Linked DNA regions of Homo sapiens: region 2 is linked to region 1. Evidence: promoter capture Hi-C in human tissues and cell types (Jung and others, 2019). All regions are on one chromosome and are shown on one strand. Each heading gives the region's core, a stretch centred on a gene start or on the middle of the fragment in contact. The rest is flanking DNA. Distances are from core to core; before and after follow the strand shown. Region 1 holds the start of DYNC1I1 (dynein cytoplasmic 1 intermediate chain 1). Region 2 overlaps COL1A2 (collagen type I alpha 2 chain).

The links. The method cuts DNA at HindIII sites, captures the fragments that hold promoters and counts their contacts. A contact is called where the count stands out against the background at its distance.
Region 2: a contact is called between a fragment that was not itself captured here and the fragment with the promoter of DYNC1I1 in region 1, in 1 of the 25 tissues and cell types used here (small bowel).

What each region holds. Positions count from the first base shown.
Region 1 is chr7:95,770,856-95,774,222 of GRCh38, reverse strand. It overlaps DYNC1I1 (dynein cytoplasmic 1 intermediate chain 1), which reads right to left and starts at 1,669. Exons shown (of 17, transcript NM_001135556.2): 1 at 1,450-1,669. The HindIII fragment of the contact is 6,379 bases long and covers 1-3,367 here.
Region 2 is chr7:94,416,683-94,420,049 of GRCh38, reverse strand. COL1A2 (collagen type I alpha 2 chain) reads right to left here. Exons shown (of 52, transcript NM_000089.4): 32 at 2,219-2,326; 33 at 1,498-1,551; 34 at 499-552. Among named protein-coding and RNA genes, the nearest start is that of COL1A2, 23 kb to the right of the region's middle. The HindIII fragment of the contact is 6,036 bases long and covers 1-3,367 here.

The DNA.
Region 1 (3,367 bases), core at 420-2,919:
GCATTCGACCCCCAACTGTATTCTAAAAACTTCCCAAGGATGGTGCTAGAGGTTTTAAGAGGAATGGGTCTTGGAGCACTGGATCCTCAGACCTAAACAAATATTCGAGAGTTAGTTCTTATGAAGAGAACATGTGGTAACTCAGTGGCAGGTGTTTCAGATTTTATTTTATTGAGAAATATGATCAAAAGAGCTGAGTTAGGACCCCTTTTTCCACACCAAACCTTTTTGAACAAACTTGGCATTTTAAATAATTAGAGGTAGTATTACATTCTCACCAGTACCCTCAGCTTGCAAATTGCACTGAATATTCCCTTTTCAAATTTACTAACACTGATCAACGTATATCTCTATAATTTCCACAATTAAAGTATGTACACAGACTGGTTACCCATGTCTGTGTTAACATCAGGCGTTGGGTTGTCACCTGCAGTTGCCTATGCCTTACTGTTAGCTATACTTTTTGCTAATCTGGAATATTTGGAAGCAATTCTTCACAACTCTGAACTACAATAAGTCTACAATGCCCACTTGAAAGGCATTCCAAGCAAGAAAATGGCTGGCTACTTGTTCCTGCCCCTTACCTAGGATTAGTAGAGGCCAGAATAGCGAATATATTCCATCTTCTGCATGTTGTTGAGTCTCTGATCTCCTATGTAATTTCCTGTCCTGATCCTGGGCTTCTGTTTAATCTTATTAGCCAAGGTACAAGTCATGAGACTCCCGCACACTCAGTTCCCATCAGCGCTGCCAGGATCACTGCCCTTATGATGACGACGCACGGATTTATAAGGCCAGAGCGATTCCGAATGGGAGCGGGGGAAGGAGAGCCAGGCGGCCGTGAAGGTGTTTACCAAAACAACATCCCCCAGCCACACTTTTTCGCAGCAGAGAGAAACTGGCATCTTCTCGCTTTGAAGTGTTTAATTAATGCCCTGCTGGAAGTGAATTCGCTCCCTCCGACTTGCAGGGTAGTGACAGCATCTAAGAGCTTTGCAGACAGCTCGAAATGTAATCAAACAGCATCCTTTCCCCTCCCTCTGCAGCTTTCCCCCTCCTCCAGGGGCAGTCAGCCGGTGGCCCAGAGGGGTGCAGATTTCAGCGCCGCTCGCCCACTGCTCCCCCGGGGAAGACCGAGGCGGGGCGCACTGGGACGCCCTTCCCAGCCCACAAGGTGGGCGACCAGGTGGTGACACCACGACCCTTCCTTCTCTGCCCTAGTCTCTCGGCTCTGCCGAGAGGGGGGTGTCACTGGGGGGCTTTGGCCGCCTTCGGGCTCAGCGGAGCACGCAGGAGCCTGGGCAGGGGGCCAGGACAAGGGTCCGGCTGCGGCTGCAGGGGCCTCGGCTCCAGCCTGGTTCCCAGCGCAGACGACACCGGGGTGGGGAGGGTTGGGGAGAGGTGCGGAGGCGGCCGTCCGGGGAGCGGCGACATCCCGCTCCAGTTTACCTGGACGCGCTCGGCAGCGGCGGAACTGGGCTCCCCGAGCCGGCGGCGGCTCCTGGGCGGCGGCAGCGTTGGTGCAGGCGGCTCCCGAAGGTGGCGGGGCCGGCGCGGGCAGGATGTGCTGTCTCACGCTGCGCCGGCCGCTCGGCTCGCGCTCCTCCGGGAGCGATCACTTCCTCTCTCCCAGAGCCTGACACTGACAGCTCCCCGGAGCACTCAGTCTGCGGGGCTCGCCCCGCCCCCTGCCCACGCCCTCCACGCCCGCGCCCCTCCTGAGGGAGGGCCTCCGCTCCGCGTCTTCCGCGCCCGGTCTCGCCAGGAGGGGGTGGCGCCGCTCCGTAGGCTGGTGGCGAGCAGAGGACCTGGAAAGGTCAATTCGTCTATCCCTCTAACGTCGGTAGGACTTAGACCTCAGTTGCTGCAAAGAGAAGAGCTTCAATATTCTGGGAGCTCCTGCTGAAATGCCACCATTGAACAACTTTCACTCCCAGGCAACTACACTTCTTAAGGTCATTTAAATAGAAATAAAGCTCAGATCTACCTGTTGTACACAATGACTTATAGGTCTGATTGATCCCAATTTTTCTAGAAGAAAAAAGAATTAAGTGTGTGTGTCTGTGTGTGTGTGTGTGTGTGTGTGTGTGTGTGTGGTGTGGTGTGTGTGTAGCTTGTCTTCACATTGCTTCTTAAAGTCCCAGCTTTTAAAAATCTGGGTAACTGGCCAGACGCGGTGGCTCACGCCTGTAATCCAAGCACTTTGGGAGGCCGAGGAGGGCGGATCACCTGAGGTCGAGAGTTGGGGGACCAGCCTGACCAACATGAAAAAACCCCGTCTCTACTAAAAATACAAAATTAGCCGGGCGTGGTGGTGCATGCCAGTAATCCCAGCTACTCGGGAGGCTAAGGCAGGAGAATGGTTGAACCCGGGAGGCGGAGGTTGTGGTGAACCGAGATCCCGCCACTGCACTCAAAGCCTGGGCAACAAGAGCGAAACTCCGTCTCGGGGAAACAAAAAAAAATCTGGGTAACTATTATTGGACTCTGCAAAAAACAAGCTTGCCACAACAGCTAAGTTATAAGGCCAAAAAATTGAGTTTGGGATGTTAGGGGGTTTGGTATCATTTTATAGATGAGCTTTTCATCATATTTCTTGCACATCTGTGGTGTATTTTTACACATTAGAATGTAAATTAGTGGAGGGCAGGGACGCTATCTTGTTCACTGCTGTATTCTTAGTATCTAGAACAGCATTCTGATATATAATGGGTACTCAGTAAATATTTATGAACTTATTAATTCACAAGTACTACAGTAATTTCAAAATAAATACAGATTCTAGTATGAATACAGTATGAATACATACTCATCTGTAAATGGCCATCCTTATTCTAAAACTTTGGCCTCCCTGGCTAATCTACTGCGATTGTAACTATGGCTAGAAATGAAGAGGTTAAATGTCTAGGTAGAAGGTATTCAAGGTATTCCAGAAGGAAAAATCTAGGAAATAAATATTTGCCACTACCGTGACTGAATATTTAATACATGTCAATTCTACATACATTTTTCTTTAACTTTTCTATAACATTATGTAGTACATATAACGAATGCCATGCCTCCAGAAAAGGAACTTGAGTCAAAGAAGTTAACTCCCTTGCCCAAGTTCCATAACCACTGAGTGATCTAGCTGAGATTTGAATTCCCATTCATCTGCAGCTTGTACTTTAACTACTTTGTATTTTGGTCTTTCCAACATGGCATTGCTTTTGTTGTTGTTGTTGTTTTGTTTGTTTGTTTGTTTGTTTTTTGAGACAGAGTCTCCCTCTGATGCCCAGGCTGGAATGCAGTGGCACAATCTCGGCTCACTGAAACCTCCATCTCCTGGGTTCAAGCGATTCTCCTTCCTCAGCTTCCTGAGTAGCTA
Region 2 (3,367 bases), core at 108-2,607, 1.4 Mb after region 1:
TAAGTAGTATGGGTTATACACTTGAGAAAACACTATAAATCAGTGCCTACAATACCAGGAGGAGGACATTTTAATTTTTAGATGGACACGGGGCTGATCTATTTGTGGCAATCTTTGCAATACAATAAATAAGATCTATTTTAAGTGGAGAGTTCAATGTGAAATGGGCACACTATGTATTTTATTGATTTTTTGGTAATAATTGAAGGCTTTGAGAAGCCTCAGTGCATTAGGATATTGTTAATGCGCAACATGGAGAGACTTTAAAACAAATGCTAGGGATTAGAGTATAGATCAGATAGCTGGCAAATCTATAGGAAGGGAAAAGTAATTTTAAACACACAGCATTTGTTTCCTGCTGCTCTATCACAATAGCTAGGTTTTTAAATAAGTAGGCTTTATACCAAGCCATAAAAATGAATTGCTGGGGCTCTTTGGGACTAGGGAAGGCGGGAAATTTTAGATATTGCTGTTGGCTTAGTGAAAATGCATGCTTACCCGGTCACCTGTGGCTCCAGCAGGACCAGGGGCACCTACAGCACCAGGAGCACCCTAGTACCAAAAAGGAAACATGTCTTATTAATAACACCCCGTATCATCAAAAGTGAACCTTGTCATTCTTTTTTTCTGTGCTTATACAGTGACTGAACACTTTCACTGCACTCTGGTTGGATATCTAGAAGGCCTCTGATGTATTTTGGTTCTAATTAACAAGACTATTAGAAGCCACTCTCAGAAGGAGGGTACTCCAGTAATAAAGGTTATGGAAATGTGTAAGTCAATAGCAGGTCAGAAATTTGGGAGATCTGAACTTTCCGCTATTGTAAAATTCCCTGGAGAGCAGCAAATGAGTAGCCTTGTTTGAAACTGTTAGAACTACGTGATTCAAAAGAAAGACTATTACAGATGTGCTACAGTCAGTTTTCAGCTCTGAAGGAGAGGTGAATAAAGGAATCCAGGCCGACTGTGGCCTAGAAGACCCATGAGGCTGACATACGAGATAAGGTAATTAGACTGTCATGGGATTATCTTTGGCATCTTCATGGCATTAACAGCTAATCTTTGGGGCTGCTCTTTGGGTGATAAATTTCTAGGGAGTAGGTTTGAATAACTATAGAATCTTGTTAGAGGTCCCGGCTTCCTAAAGCATAGGAGACTTATTTATTTATTTATTTTAATCTCTGTTATCACTTGAAGCAATCATTTAATATTCTATTAAACCTAAAGCTTTTGGTCTATAGTTTGTAGTTGGTATCATTGACACTAGGGAAGTTAGAAAATTCAGGATATTATTTTCAAAGAGGTTAAATCCCATTTAATTTTTCCTTTGGAACATGTAAAATGATATTATTAGTCATAGACCCAGGAGAGAAAGGAATATTATTTTATTAAACTTGATAAATAAAGTGTGTGTAGTTCTAATTTGGAAAACTTCTCAATTCAAACATAAAAAAAAAATCCAAGTACGAAGAAACATACAAACAAAATTCTACTCACACGAGCACCATCTCTGCCAGGGTTACCAATTTCACCTCTGAGACCAGGTTCACCCTGAAAGTATAAAGCAAGAGCAACTTTTTGTTTTCTGACCAAAATTTTGAATCGAAATTAATATGAAGTTTTTTTCTTTTTTACAGAAGATGCTATGATACCTTCAGTCATTTAAGATTTTTAGCAATGTCTCGATTCCTTACCATTCTGTAGAATGTTAATCGAGAAAAATAATGAGGAAAAAATAATTCAAGGCCATTTCCAGATTATTGTTAAACAATCTTTTCTAATTTCCGTACACTCTCCTGAAGCATAATCAAGCAAGGTACAGATTCATGTGGACAGAATTGTAAGGCAACATCACAATGGGCTGCAGCGCCTGATCACTCTTACGGCATAACTAATGCAGCAGCATGGTTGACAGCTGTTCAATGTAGCTTCTTCCCATTAATTAGGACAGGATGAGGCATTATTGTTAGTGGCATTAAAATGAGCCTCATGTATTACTCAACACCATCTGTTTGTGTGAAATTCCATGGTAGCAAGGAATTTTGCCAGATTAGTGAGTTTAGAAATGTGTAGGTGCTAGGTGGCAGAGGGAAATGTATATAGATAGATATGAAAATGCTACCAGACCACCTGCCAAGAATTGTGAAAACTTGGGCATCCTTGTGCAGCCTTCTTTACTAGAGTTCATCAACAATATGTAATAGGGGTCAACACGTACCTTTTCTCCCTTGCCTCCAGGTATGCCAGCAGCACCCCTCTCTCCTGGGAGTCCACTAGGACCAGATGGACCAGCAGTGCCCACAGCACCAACCACACCAGGTTCACCCTTGAGTCAAACACATGTGAAATCAATTTTAGTGGAGAAAGAAGAAAATGAAGAATCAAACTCTAGAAGAATTCCAATTTAAACAGCTAGCTAGACAGGCTTCTTGCCTGCTTTGAAACACAAAGAAGGCTGGGCTATTGAAAGGAGGGAGAATATAGCAGAGAGAGATGCTGTTAATGACATGGTGACTGAAGAGATGAGGGTAGTGGGAGTGCACAGCTGCGATTCCTCTATAACCTGCTTCAGTCCTCTTAAGGATGGCAGGCATGGAGAAGAGGATAGGACAATGGGAAGCAGAGAGTAAAAAATGTTTACCCACAAACATTTTTCAAGGATAAGTCTCTTAGCCCAGATAGAAAGCATGGAAAGAGACCTTGTCAATTGAGGAGATGTTTGTGTTTTAATCTCCTTAAGAGTAGAGACTGTATCTTCCATTTTTATATAAAACCCTACAATTCCACATACTTAAAACCTGTTGACTAGCTTCTGAGATACATAGATCCCTTTGAAAGTACTACCTCACAAAACCGTGGTTTCTTTATTTCCTCTCTCCCTTTTATGTTTTTATTTTTTTCCCAAGAACATCCTTCCATACACTAAAATAGCTTTTTGCAACTAATGTTTACATTTTTTCCCCTAGAGTTAAGAATGAAAATAATATGTGTTGTCTTCTTTTTATTGTGGTTAAGGTAATCTCTTTTTCAGGAATGTATATTAAATCTATTTTAAAATCTAAACCACAGATTCTATTTTGGAACACAAGTTTCCAGACAAATTTTTGGGGGTGAATGTATTGCCCAATGAATTTTCATCATCATAAACTCTTATTATTAAAAGTCAGACTACTTGTTGAAATTTTACTCTATGGGATGAGATGTTAAGATAAAAAGTTATTTTCTCTGAAAATAATGTCCAATGAATACAATGTTTCTAGATTAAAACAAAAGCATAAACAGCGTGAGGAGAAAAGAGTGACAACCCATACTAATTCATTTATGTTTTGGGAACTCTGAATTTTCCCCCACAGTTTGTTGCTATTGT